Linked DNA regions of Homo sapiens: all the other regions are linked to region 2. Evidence: promoter capture Hi-C in 16 types of primary human blood cells and fetal thymus (Javierre and others, 2016). All regions are on one chromosome and are shown on one strand. Each heading gives the region's core, a stretch centred on a gene start or on the middle of the fragment in contact. The rest is flanking DNA. Distances are from core to core; before and after follow the strand shown. Region 1 overlaps HPSE2 (heparanase 2 (inactive)). Region 2 holds the start of HPSE2 (heparanase 2 (inactive)). Region 3 overlaps HPSE2 (heparanase 2 (inactive)). Region 4 holds the start of PYROXD2 (pyridine nucleotide-disulphide oxidoreductase domain 2).

Evidence for each region. Contacts are between HindIII fragments. The CHiCAGO score rates a contact against its expected background, and 5 or more counts as called.
Region 1: a contact is called between a fragment that was not itself captured here and the fragment with the promoter of HPSE2 in region 2, in 1 of 17 cell types (M1 macrophages). The highest score is 5.9, in M1 macrophages.
Region 3: a contact is called between a fragment that was not itself captured here and the fragment with the promoter of HPSE2 in region 2, in 1 of 17 cell types (M1 macrophages). The highest score is 5.0, in M1 macrophages.
Region 4: the fragment with the promoter of PYROXD2 here is called in contact with the fragment with the promoter of HPSE2 in region 2 in 3 of 17 cell types (megakaryocytes, M1 macrophages and total CD4 T cells); the score reaches 6.5 in megakaryocytes.

The regions. Positions count from the first base shown.
Region 1 is chr10:98,624,679-98,628,219 of GRCh38, reverse strand. The region is part of intron 7 of HPSE2 (heparanase 2 (inactive)); the gene reads left to right. Among named protein-coding and RNA genes, the nearest start is that of HPS1, 180 kb to the right of the region's middle. The HindIII fragment of the contact is 2,648 bases long and covers 425-3,072 here.
Region 2 is chr10:99,233,822-99,237,384 of GRCh38, reverse strand. It overlaps HPSE2 (heparanase 2 (inactive)), which reads left to right and starts at 1,533. Exons shown (of 12, transcript NM_021828.5): 1 at 1,533-1,872. The coding sequence starts at 1,583. RefSeq lists enhancers at 1-455, 456-956 and a silencer at 3,104-3,223. The HindIII fragment of the contact is 7,443 bases long and covers 1-3,563 here.
Region 3 is chr10:98,643,577-98,646,864 of GRCh38, reverse strand. The region is part of intron 6 of HPSE2 (heparanase 2 (inactive)); the gene reads left to right. Among named protein-coding and RNA genes, the nearest start is that of HPS1, 200 kb to the right of the region's middle. The HindIII fragment of the contact is 1,036 bases long and covers 768-1,803 here.
Region 4 is chr10:98,413,165-98,416,457 of GRCh38, reverse strand. PYROXD2 (pyridine nucleotide-disulphide oxidoreductase domain 2) reads left to right here and starts at 1,276. Exons shown (of 16, transcript NM_032709.3): 1 at 1,276-1,449. The coding sequence starts at 1,323. HPS1 (HPS1 biogenesis of lysosomal organelles complex 3 subunit 1) reads left to right here. Exons shown (of 20, transcript NM_000195.5): 20 at 1-260. The HindIII fragment of the contact is 3,850 bases long and covers 1-3,293 here.

The DNA.
Region 1 (3,541 bases), core at 499-2,998, 610 kb after region 2:
ATGCTCTTCTCTGCTCATGGAAGATACAGAGTTCATAAGCCTCCCACGGTGCCCCAAACAGTAAATACTCAGAAAATATTTGTTGGTTTGTACTGACTACTCCTAGAACCTTTAACATTAATAATTTCTAGAAATATTTCCCCAAAAAACATTTCATATAACTGGTTTAGTTTTTGTATCAAAGTTGTTCCTCACTGTGTATATTTGTTCATGTGGCTTGACAGGAATTACCCCTGTGCTGAGAATGGATAAATGAACTACTCTGAATGATAATTATGTTTGTGTGAGTTATCCATGTGCATTTTAAATTCTAAACTGGCCTTTCCTGCTGCTTAGCATGCATCTGGGCTATTACCTATCACCACAAGTCCTACGTCTGAAGGAAAAACAACCAACTCTGATGTTATTCATTCAAACACAAGCTTATGTGCCTTGGACAAGGAGAGTGGTCTAGGTAATATTTTGGTTTACACCTCTAAGTGCTTACTATATGCCAGACACTACTTCAACTGCTTTATAAATATTATATAATTTAAATATCATAAAATCCTCTAAGGCAGATATGATTCTGATTTTACAGCTGAGAAAATTGAAACACAGACAGGTAATACAACTCATTCAAAGTCATGCAGTAAGTAAATAATAGAACCAGAATTCAAATGCAGGCAATCCATCTCCAGAGTCCATGCCCCTAACTGTTCCTCAATTTTAGATTGTTTCCTTTCAAATCTCCCTGCAAGTCAGAAGAGAATTCTGATTAACTTTTTTATTTTTTATTTTTTAAGAGACTCTCATGCAGGCTGGAGTGCAGTAGTGTGAACAAAACTCACTGCCTCCTGCCTCAGCCTCCTGAGTAGCTGGGACTACAGGCACAAGCCACCATGATTGGCTAATTTTTTGTTTTTCTTTTTTGAGACAAGGAATTTAGCTGTGTTGCCCAGGCTGGTCTCAAACTCCTGGCCTCAAGTGATCCTCCTACCTCAGCCTCCCAAGTAGTAGGGCTACAGGCGTAACTTTTATTTACACAGAGTCTATGTCCTTGAAGGGTCTTGTAGACACAGTATTTTATAAATCCAACCGTTTTCTGGAATCAAGTCCTCACTTAAAGGAGCTAGAGTTTGAACTCCTTTTGAAAAATAATCATCTCGGCCGGGTGCGGTGGCTCATGCCTGTAATCCCAGCACTTTGAGAGGCTGAGGTGGGCGGATCACGACGTCAGGAGATTGAGACCGTCCTGGCTAACACGGTGAAACCCCATCTCTACTAAAAATACAAAAAATTAGCTGGGCGTGGTGGTGGGCACCTGTAGTCTCAGCTACTCAGGAGGCTGAAGCAGGAGAATGGCGTGAACCCAGGAGGGGGAGCTTGCAAGTGAGCCGAGATTGCACCAGTGCACTCCAGCCTGGGCAACAGAGCGAGACTCCGTCTTGAGAAAAAAAAAAAGAAAAATAATATCTCATACAAATCACCCCTCTGAGTTGGGCATGCCACCATCCAACTAAGTACAGTAGGTTCTTGAATAATTTCATTTCATTTAACATCATTTTATTATAATATTGATGGAAAAAAAATCAATTCCCAGCTGGGGCCACTGTCTGTTTGGGTTTTCTCCGGATACTCCTGCAAATATGTAGACTGCATTAGGTTTCTTGGGTGTCTAAATGGTCCCTGTCCAAGTGAGTATGGGCGTGGGTATGAGTGGCCCTGCAATGGAATGGTAACCTGTCCATGGCTGGTTCTCACCTTGCACTCTGAGCCTCTGAGATAGGCTCTGGCTACTCTCAACCCTGAACTGGTATAAGCGGGTTGGAAAATAAATGAATGAATGAATAAAAATTATTGTAAAATAAAAATTTGTAAAGTCTACAATAATTATACAAATGTACAATAAACGATGTGGCACTAAAGCACACAACAAGTCTGTCATATTTGTGATTGTTTTTGAACTTCCTGGTGGTAGGAGGTGCTCCTTTTTGCTTTGCAAACAAATTCCTTGATTTAACCCCCCACCTCCATGACTACCGCCACTCACTGATTCACCAAAAATTGGGTAAGTAATTTTCTTACTTGTTTTTATTCATCTTTTTTCTTTTTTCTTTTTCTTTTTTTTTTTTGAGACGGAGTCTCGCTCTGTCGCCCAGGCTGGAGTGTAGTGGTGCGATCTCGGCTCACTGCAAGCTCCTCCTCCCAGGTTCACGCAGTTCTTCCGCCTCAGGCTCCCAAGTAGCTGGAACTACAGGCACCCGCCACCACACCCAGCTAATTTTGTTTTTGCATTTTTAGTAGAAACGGGGTTTCACCGTGTTAGCCAGGCTGGTCTCTATCTCTTGACCTTGAGATCCGCCCACCTCGGCCTCCCAAAGTGCTGGGATTACAGGTGTGAGCCACCACGCCCGGCCTATTCATGTGTTTTAAATGTGTATATAGATCACACTTATTTCAGTGATTAGTATGAAAAGTTTTGGGGTCTTTATTTAGAAATTCGGTGATGTTTTTGTGACCAGAAATATGTCATAGGAACTTAATTCTTATTAGTATCATTTAGCCTATAGCAACATTGGTTATATTATACGTTCTTTTGCTTAAAGTTGCCGTTTCCAAGGACCTATTGATGACTTTAAGTGAAGACTTATTGTACTTACAGCAAACATCCTCAAGTGATAAATGTGGAAATACATGATTGTTTCTTTTCTTAATATCAGAATATTATAACGAGCTTGATAACACATAAAATCCTTCTGGTATCCAAATCACCTTGTATGGTAATTGACCTTTAACACTTCTGAGGTTATTGGATTCCATACATAAATTACCTGCTAAGCAAAGCACAATTTTCCTTTTCCTTCTCAGATCAAGGAGAAAACCCCAGGCCTGATATCCTGAGATTTGGCAAATAAGCATGTTGCTCTTCTCTAGATCTTTCATGTTGTAATAGGTTTTCATTTTATGTTTTTCCTGATCTCTAAGGTCGTTTTTGCAGTCAGCATATTGCTTCCAATTCTTTGATCAGGTTTTAGTCGCCCTTTATCAGGTCACATGACTTCCTTAAGGAGTAGCAGTTTACTGTAAGCTTGTGCAAGGGCAGGTATGGAATTGCATTAACTTCTTTGTGTTACACACAGTCTCCTGTGAAGCACTTACTCTGTGCCAGGCATTCTGATAGGAAGTAAATACAAAAGTGAATAAAAGTATTCCCTGCCTTCAAAGAGCTAATGGTTCAAGGTTTCTAGGAAATTTCCTGAATTTCTTACTTGGATCGAAAATGGTAGTTCAGAATCCTACCACCAAACCGTAAGAATAATTGGCACTAGTTCCTCTGAATTCATGCATCACCGTAGAAGGACCCACATAAATGTTTATCTGCTAGTTCTGTGCTCCTTTTCACTAACTCTCAGGATCTTCCTGTGATTGGCCTAGTGTATGTGTCTTTGGCCTTTGACAAGGAAAGATCCTTAACACAATCCTATCAGGTATTATTCCAGCTTACATGTGAGGAAATTGAAGCTCGAAGTGGTTATAAAATAATAAAACTTTAATTTGT
Region 2 (3,563 bases), core at 284-2,783:
TACAGCGTTTGCTGGGCTTTAAGACTAACCCTTGTCCATCCACTTCTGGGGAAAACCCTTGCTCTGCATTTTAGGGTTTTGCTTGTTTGATACCAAGGAGGGCCCTGGACGCTTCTGCGTTTCTGACTGCCCGCACTACATAAAGTAGTTCCCTTCATCTGCCAAGTAGAAGTCCCATTTTGTCTCAGAAAGAAGCCGAAAGTGGGGCCCAGCAATGTGACTGCAGCAAACTGTGCCTGATCCCTTTCCCGCGCTTCAGGATAGGACCTAGAGTTCAATTTGCAAGCTGTTGTGGGGTGGAAGCTCAATGAGCAGCGGCGGGTCGTGCATCACAGCGGCTTCCGGCTGTTATTCCCCATCCAGGGCTATGTGACTCTGGTTTTGACTGGGGGCCGAGATGGAAACCCGAAAGTGTCACTATGGTCCCATCTGGCACTGTAAAGGCGCACTTCCCTGCAGGAGGGCTAAGTATAGGATTGACCTCCAGGAGGGTCTGGAGGGGGGACTCTACCTGTGCAGCAGAATAGAGTGGCCAAGAAGTGGCACAGTTGGACGCAGAGCCGCCCTGACTATCCAAGCACAGCTCAGGTAGCTTCGACTTGGCCAAAGCCAGCATGTATTGACGCTCCCAAGACGCTTATTCCTCGGTTGCGGGAAGAGCAGAGCAGAGCGAGGGCGCATGTCCCTTTTGGCCCTCGGATCGGAAAAGCTGCTTGACCAGGTCACTATGTTTTTCCTTCTTGCTACTCTTTGCCCTATGGAGGTCAGAGGATGCTTCGGTGTGGCTATCCAACGCGTCACAGAGATCAGGGCTCCTCTTCGGGGAATGTCCTTCAGGGCTCTATGCTTTGACAGGAATCACCGCCTCAAGACCCCTCTGCAACTTAACCGCCCTTGGTATTGCTGCTTCAACCAGAAAAGGGCCCTGAGCGGACGAAGTGCCTGACGCTGTCAGGAGAAACAAGCGTGCTGTCGGTGGGAACTCTATCCCAGCGCGTCCCGGGTTGGCGCTGGGGCTTTCGGGTCGGAGTCGGAGCTTGAACCGCCCTCCAGAGCCTCTCAGGGAAGGACGTAAAAACGAGACCCTTTGCTCTGTACCCAGACGGTACAACGGCATGGTTTGGATTCCTCCCTCTGCTTCCTGACCCTAGAGGGTTAAATTAGGAGGGTACAACGCCACCCTTTTCTCCTCCTTCCCGCCTGCTCCCCTCCCCTTACCTTTAAAAAGTTAAAAAATGTCTGCAGTAGAAATCTCTTAAAGGGGCGGTGCCGGTGTACGAGTTCTCTTGGCAAGAGTCACGGGGAAGGCTGGCTAGGGGCGTGAGTTCGCTCCACCAGCACCAAAACACTGAAAAAAAAAATTAAAAAAAATTAAAAAAAAAAAAGAAAAAAACAAAACGAGCGAGCGAGCGAGCGAGAGAGAGAGAGAGCGGGAGAGAGAGAGAGTGTGTGTGTGTTGGGGGGGTGGTGGGAGGAAGGGAAAAAAAGGGGGGAAAAAGGCGGACAGACACACACTTTAGATAAGGACAATTAGTCACTAGCGAGACCCAGTAGGAAGAGAGGTTTAAATCAGAGGGATTGAATGAGGGTGCTTTGTGCCTTCCCTGAAGCCATGCCCTCCAGCAACTCCCGCCCCCCCGCGTGCCTAGCCCCGGGGGCTCTCTACTTGGCTCTGTTGCTCCATCTCTCCCTTTCCTCCCAGGCTGGAGACAGGAGACCCTTGCCTGTAGACAGAGCTGCAGGTTTGAAGGAAAAGACCCTGATTCTACTTGATGTGAGCACCAAGAACCCAGTCAGGACAGTCAATGAGAACTTCCTCTCTCTGCAGCTGGATCCGTCCATCATTCATGATGGCTGGCTCGATTTCCTAAGGTAAGGCAGGGGTTTCGATGGATCATTTAAAATTTTTTAGTAACACCCCCTCAAGCCCTTCCTATCCCCCATTCCAAAGGGGAAAGAAGAAAATAAGCCAAGCAGATCTCTCAAAGAGAAGAAAAGAGGTTTTCCTTCTCCTGGATTGTGTGCTGTGAGGCTGTAACTAGTGATTGAGAAAAGCAATGTTTTCTATTAAGATGCACATGTTTGCAATGCAGAAGGCATTTCAGAAACTTATCAGTTATGACTGAAAAAATGTTGTGCTTACATATATCCACAATTAGCCTTCCCGTCTACTTCTGAAAAAGAAACAAGAGGTTCAGAGCAGTTACAAAAGCGAAGAAAAGGTCTCAAACAACAAAGAGCTGAAAGGAATGGGTATGTGTGTGTGTGTGTGTGTGTGTGTGTATGTGAGACAGGAGAGTGTGTGTGTGTGAGTGTTCAAGCGGGATTGCACGAAACTGGAATTTTCCACGGAAAGATCGTTTCGTCAGTTCTCTCCCACTCTCAGAAAACGAATTTAAGCAGAGGCTTGAGTGGTGGGCAAGTTGGATCGGAGTTAAAATTTTTTATTTTATATCCTCCGCTGTCATTTCCAGACTTCAGGACTTTGTAAGGCGCTTTTTATAGACGGAATGCCCCCCTCCCCCCGCCAGTTCCTCCTCCTTAAATCTCCTGCGGTAACTGCACAGTTTAGCTTTTCTTTAAAGGAAAAAAAAAATCCTCGCTGGGGTCACAGCGTTATAAGGGAAGCGGTAAGAGTCCTAGAAATACTCCAGGGAGGCTTCGGAGATCTGAACTCCGCACCAGCAGATTAGCAAACCCGGAGGTTTGTGATCCCCTTTGCTCTAGGGCTTGTAATCTAATTGGGCTCACACTCTTCCCGGGTTGTTGCAGTTTGGCAGTTAGGCAACTGCGATCCCTTCCCATCAGGGACAGAGTTGCAGTGTAAAATAAGAAATAAATCCTCTGCAATGTCGAATCCAAGTGTTGAGTTTTTAAAAATTCCCTACAAGTTGGAGCCTCAGCTGTGGGTTCCCCTCGAAGAGCCCTCAGCGCTCTCAGTCCCACTTTGCCCCGAGGCCAGGTCCGTTGTGCGTCCTTCGTATTTTTCACTCCTTGCGAAATTCGAGTTTTGCTTCTTGAGGTGCGCCCGCCTCTCAGCTCTTGGGGTTGTCCCCCTGGCCCGGGTCGGGTCTGCGGACGCGGCAGGTAGCGGGAGGCGCCACGTGGAGCGCTCCTTCCACGTGGAGGAAAGGTAGCCGGAGGACTGAGAGGCTGTAGCTGCCCTTGCCGAGGCCGTTTCGGTTCCTGTTGGTGCGGTTGCCGCGAGGGCGGAACAGCCAGCTCCGCGCGGCCCAGCTTCCTCTTCGAAAGCTCTTTCGTGCAGCAGAGCGCGTCTATGAGCTCGTCCGAATGTAGGGTGCAACGGAGTTTTCCGCAACGCTTGTCCCACTTTCATTGAACTCCTTCAGCTGCGCAGACCCCCTTTCCCCCACCAGCTTTCTTTCTTTTTTTAAAAAATCTGCCTGTTCGCCTAATGCTTTCCTGCCTCAGAAAAGAGTCTGGAAGGCAGATTTTCGGGGAAGAAGTCCTGGCGGGGCGCATTCGCATTGGCTGTGCAGGCTTCTGGATGAAAGGTTGTTGGAACTGCCCTTTCCCCAGGACCGGATTCGCGCGGACGTCTC
Region 3 (3,288 bases), core at 36-2,535, 590 kb after region 2:
GTGATTTTCCATTTTCCTATTTCTATTTTGTTCATGTTCATTCTCTAATTCGTCTACAATGAGCATTTAGTTCTTTTGTAATAAAAATAAAGGGCAACACCAAATAAAATAAGATGAAGATTATTGTACTGGAACTAAAATGTAAAATTAAGGGGGACAGGAGAGTTGGTGAATACATTGATAAGTGGTTCCTTTTACTTTGTATAGTCTGCTATCTTTGCCACTTCCCCAGAGATATGCTTGATATGACCTGCCAATCTAGAGGTAGGAATGAATTGCTGGCATTGGGTGAGACAGACCTTTTGATGATGTATTAATACAAAAGTTTCAACTTCATTACCTTTGTGATAGTTCCCAGAAAGGTTATTTCTACACAGCCTTTCTTGGCTTTGGTTTTTAGTGGAACAGCTCGACGACTTGTGGTATGATCTTAAGTGATGCTGAATTTCAAGAGAGCTTGGAGGATGACCATGATATACCTAAAAGTGTCAGTCTAGGTAATTCTAGACCATTCAGCCAGGGTTTTTTTAAAAAAAAAAAAAGAAAAAAGAAAAAAAGAAATCACCATTATCATCATTTTTAGCAATTTATTCTTATAAAATGGTCACCACAGACTACTCCATCTCCTTCATGCCCAAATATAAATGATATATTTATATTGGACCTATCACCACATGCAACTACCATCAGTGAACCAAAGCTCTGTAACTGGGAAGAAGCTTTCAAATAGCCACGGATTGTTGATGCTGAATGTTTTCTTAGAAGCTTCACATTTACAATGGGTAAGTACAGTAAGTTAGTTGTCCAAGCATATCTAAGAAAAAGGTTTAGGCATTGATAAATTCATACCCTATGGGTTTTTCTTTGTTTGTTTGTTTTTGTTTTGTTTTGAGACCTAGTCTTGCTCTGTTGCCCAGGCTGGGGTACAGTGGCACAATCTCGGCTCACTGCAAGCTCCGCCTCCCGGGTTCACGCCATTCTCCTGACTCAGCCTCCGGAGTAGCTGGGACTACAGGCGCCCCCCACCACGCCCCGGCTAATTGTATTTTTAGTAGAGACGGGGTTTCACCATGTTAGCCAGGATGGTCTTGATCTCCTGACCTCATGATCCGCCCGCCTCAGCCTCCCAAAGTGCTGGGATTACAGGCTTGAGCCACCACGCCTGGCCATACCCTATGGTTAAATGATCCCCTCTCTTAAAAGTGATACTGAATTCTGGATGACCAAAGTTCATATTTCCATAGTACAATATAAATGTGGGTTTAAGTTTGCAAATGAAAGTTGCTGAAACTTCTCAGTATAATGTGAGGATTCCTTTGACATTCAAATGTGAATTGGACTCAGACTGAAGTTATTAAAAAGATGCTGTGATCATCAGGCTAGAGGAGGAAGGGGTCCTTAGCTGGGTCAAAGGTAGAGGCAATGCCCAGGGCCATATTTTAGAAGCATTTTGAAGGGTCTCTGACATCTCTGTTAATTTCCCTTATTCTCTTGAAGAGTTCATCTGCAGCCATGGCTTTGGCCATTACTTACAACCTGAAAAAGACCCCCACGTCAACATTTCTTGTCTCAACTTTTCTCTGTACCTCTTTCTTATATCCCCAGCTACGTGGTATATAGTTCTTTCTTGATATTCTGTATATTTTTGATATGTCAGACAGTATCTTTCATCTCTCTAAACAAATTGTATTCCTGTATGACTAACCTACATCTCTTTGGCAACAGTGTTCTCCAAGGCAATCTCTCTTATATGTTGATGGTCATCAGTGACTCCCTTCCTCTCTTTTACCCTCTACAGAAGCTTTATTTGTTCTTCCTTCATCTCTGCTTGCTTTCACTTTTCTTGTTCCCTCCCTTATTTAGACCCAGATCATTTCTTGCCAGCACTATTGAGATAAAATAACTTTATTTATTGGTTTCCATGCCTGTATCTCCTCCCGCTCCAATCCAATTCACAGCCCACGGAAATAGCCCAAGATTACCTGAGAATGATTGGATACAGCTTGTAAGGGTAAAACTGGGGACAAGAATAGGCTAAACTGCTTAAGCCAAGGTTGCTGGATTTCATCTCCCATGTATCACATGAAGGAGCAATTGGACCATTTCTGGGTTCAAGAAGATATAATGCTAGCCATTGAGAGGAAGTAACAGGGATCAGATTTCAGCACCATGTCAGAAGAGCTTTTCGTCAATTAGAGCTGTGATGCAGTGAAGCAGTCCTAGTAGTGTATGACAGTGAATTCTTGTCCCTGGATATGTTCAAGCAAAGCCAGAAAATCACTTCTAAGGGATATTGTAGCAAGCTTACATGCTTTAGGCCAGCTGACCAGTAAGGTCTTTTCAAACTCCAAATTTTTACAACATAATCACAGCCATCTCCATCCCTGCCTCTGCCTCACACCTGCTGGGAATCCAGCATCTGTTCTTGCTGCTCTACACTTTCCTCACTCCAAGTTCTACAGCGGATAGCATGCTCTCCTCCAGAGGGATGCTCCCCTGCCCATCCCATCCCATGGCCTTTCAGTGTAAGTTTCTGCTGCCTTGGGCCCTTAAGTAATCTGAACAGAGTAGATCTGGTTATTGAATAGCTTTTATATGACAGGTCCCGTGCCCAGCATTTTTGCTTATGTGATCAGTACACCAACCCTGTGAAAATATTGTAGATTTGGGTTTTTTAAAACCCACTTTAAAGAAGGGATTGAACCAAGGTTTTCTAACTCCAGATTCTGGGTACTTGAGAAAAGGAAGGAGGAAAAGAATGAAGGGACCCTCAACCATGGGCCACAGATTGGGGTAGGCTAGGGAGGTTCTTCACAGGAAATCCTACCTACTGAAAAATTACATCTGGAATTTTTATCTCAATAGGTATTAAACTATGTGTGTTGCTAACAAAAATTATAAATACTGATGTGTAATGTAGTTACTGGGAACTAATTGAGAAAAGAGGAAAGTGTAATATATTTGATTAAATAATAAAAGAATAATTACAATGCATTACTTGTCAAATTCCTGGTCACCATATAATATAGTAGCAAGTATTCATGTCCTCAAATGTGTGTTAGATTAGCATTGCATAAATTATTTTTAATTTTAACACTACTCTGTCTCAACATGCCTGGCTTTCATGTAGTATGCCATGTATCTGATCTTTTTTTCAAAAATCAGAGGTGCTAATTAAGTATCTGATCTTTTTCCAAAAATCAGAGGTGCTAATGAAGAAGTACTACTATGAACAGGTTATGAGATAGGATAATGGACATGGATATGCCCAGCACTATGTGTTGCACA
Region 4 (3,293 bases), core at 27-2,526, 820 kb after region 2:
CTCAGGTGACTGGATCTGTGTTCCTCCTTAACATCATCTGATGGAATGGCAATGAAAAGCGTGGATTGTGGAAAATACAGAAAAACATAAAGGAAAAAACTCCAATCCCCTGAGCCCACCACTGTTCAGGACCCCTGCTTTTGTCACCTACTATTTCCCTTTAGTTTTTAGCAGCGGCTGGATGTGATATGTCTAGTTTAACCAGTCCCCTTGATCTTTCTATATAATAAATAACACAGGAGTGAACATCCTGAATCAGATCTTAGCAGAGATGCTCACATGCGGGGTAACTGTCCATGGTGTGTGGAGGGGTCCTCGGAACCCCCTCTTAGGATCATCTCCACATACTCTCCCAGTTCTGAGATTCGTTACCAATAGCAGGTTTCCGTCACACTGCGATATCAGAGCAGTGCAGGAACTCTCCGCTCCAAGGGGTTTTTTCCTCCTAGGGGAACACTCTGCTAAGTAATGGGCAGAGAACAAAGGGGCTCCTAATTCAAGGCAGGCCTAAGGGAGGGTCAGAAAGAACTTTAGCTGGAGGTATTTACAGATGTGACCTCGAATCCTTGGGGATTCTTGGAAAATGGGCAAGGTGCCAAAAGAGGAGAACTGGCCAGGCCTTCAAAACTAAAACACCAGAGAATTACAGACAGCGAACTTGCCCCTAAGCCCTCGTTGTGGGTTTGTGTTTGAGCATTTAGGAGAGGACTCCAGTGCTCCTCAGCGACAGACACAGCTGCCTCTGCGGTGTCTGAAGGCCCTGGTCGTGGTGACGCTAGATGGCCGCCCTGGGCGCCTCCTGTGGGCGTAGAGGCATCACCACTCTGCACTGGCAGACTCAGCATGGAGTTGGAGCAGAGTCTGACACGAGCACTTGCCATCCCAGGCGTTTCAGTTCTGACTGAGAAGGTAGATGCACAGGGGAGGAGAGGGCCCTTTCGAGCTCCACTCTGCCTCCACCACTCATTCCCTAACCCCGCAGCCTCAGCGCCCTCATCTGTAAAATGGGGAGTTTTGCCTACAGGGTTCAGCACAATGCCAGCCTGACATAGGAACCCCAGTGGATTGTCAGTTTTGCCATTATCCCCTGCATCCTGGAGGTGACACCGCCTGGTTAATAGGCAACACTCCCGACGGCCCAGCACAGCCCCAGGGCAGCAGGAGGCTGGCCTGTGGCCAAGAATGCATGGTGGAGGGGGCCTGGAGGGGGACTGCAGCTCCTCCTCTTCCTGCTTCCTCCCTGCTCCACCCCGTGCCTAGGGCAGCACAAAAGCCAATCGCTAGCAAACTCCCTGCCTAGCAAGGCCCAGCCTGGGGCAGAAATGGCTGCAAGTGGCCGAGGTCTCTGCAAGGCTGTGGCCGCCTCTCCCTTCCCGGCGTGGAGACGAGATAACACGGAAGCCAGGGGAGGTCTGAAGCCTGAGTATGATGCGGTGGTGATAGGAGCAGGTAAAGTGGTAAAGCAGGCCGGGCCAGAGCTGAGGGGCGGGAAGACAGCCCTGCTCAGAGCTTGGTGGGGAGGGGGAGGGGGAGCCAAGCCCCACTGCTCTCTCCTCTGGCATAACCCAGCCAGAAGTTTATACGCTAGCAGGGGCTGCAATGGAAAGCCCTTCCATCTGGCAGGCAGGCACCTGGGATTCCGGTGCTGGCTCTGCTGTGTGGCCTGGGGCAAATGCTTGCCTTCTCTGGGCTTGGATCTTCCCATGGAGAATGACAGGAAGACTAGGTGAGCTCAGGGGTTTCCCTATATCTCTTGCAAAGTGACCTAGTTTCCACCACATTCTCAGCCTATGGTTTGTAAGGGTTGGAAAGAGCCCTGGGCCAACAGACAAGTGAAATCCAGCACCCCGCCCCCTCAGTGCCCTGAGTTCTGGTCACCACTACCTTACCACTGAGGCCACCCCTCGTCACAAGAAACTGCAGTCATTTCATAAAGGCCAGTTAGGATAAAACAGAACTGAGTCCCAGAGTTCCTACTGCGTGTCTGCAGAGGGAGATGGACCCCATTGCCTTGCAGCTCTGGGACATTTGGGGATCTGCAGTGATCTGCCACACTTTGCCAACCCCTGGGCTCAGAGTATCACAGTCTACTGGGTGCTAGGGGAAGAGGCAGGCCCAGGACCAGGTGGTCTTTCCTTAGTGCCTTCCTTTCACACTTGCAGAGGGCCCCAAATGCATGATTGCCAACTGGGTCTATACAGAGATAATGACGGGACCGAAAGCAGACGGCACTCAACATGCAGCTTTGAGGGCATGCCTTCATTTTCATATGTACTAGAGCAGTTGCGAGCTGGTAGATACTCAACACTCACCTCTCCAGGGAAAAATGTGTGATGTATGTGTGTGTGTACATGTATATATATGTATATATACACACATATATGTGTATATATATGTATATGTGTTACGTACATATATATACACATATACACATGCTTATTTTAAATATTGAAATAAAAGATACACTGCACACAATTTTACAAATAAAGATACAATACTCTCAATTTAAATGCAGTCTACCCGAGTGATTCTTACCAAAGGCTTTCTTTGATTTTTGCCAAACTCAGTAGCCAACCTATAGTTGCAAATGACAAATGAGGGTAGCTCCAAAGAGAACGGTGCTCCATATTTTCTGTAAAGAGTAGGATGATCGTGAAACAAATGAAACAACAAAGATTTATGTCCCAACCTTACTCCTTTATTTTTTAAAATTTATTTTTATTTTATTTATTTATTCATTTATTGAGATGGAGTCTTGCTCTGTTGCCCAGGCTGGAGTGCAGCGGCGCAATCTCGGCTCACTGCAACCTCCGCCTCCTGGGTTCAAGCGATTCTCTTGCCTCAGCCTCCCGAGTAGCTGGGACTACAGGCGCCCACCACCACGCCCGGCTAATTTTTGTATTTTTAGTAGAGACGGGGTTTCACCATGTTGGCGAGGCTGATCTCAAACTCCTGGCCTTGTGATCCACCTGCCTCAGCCTCCCAAAGGGCTGGGATTACAGGTGTGAGCCACTGCGCCCGGCCTCCTTCTTTAAATGACAGGAATGATGTTACTCAAATAAGATAATATTGTTCTAATACTAGAATATTTCCTTCAATTTTTGTGCTATTTATTCATGCTATAACAGCTAACACTGTTAGGTTTAATCTGCATTATTAGCATTTTCCCATCACTTTCTTAAGCCTGACCACAAAAAATAAATTCAGCCCTTCTGTGTAATATTTGCTGATGACAGTGGTGTAAATACTCCCACCATAGCCTTTTCTGTTACCAAGATGAGGTTGCTCAATGT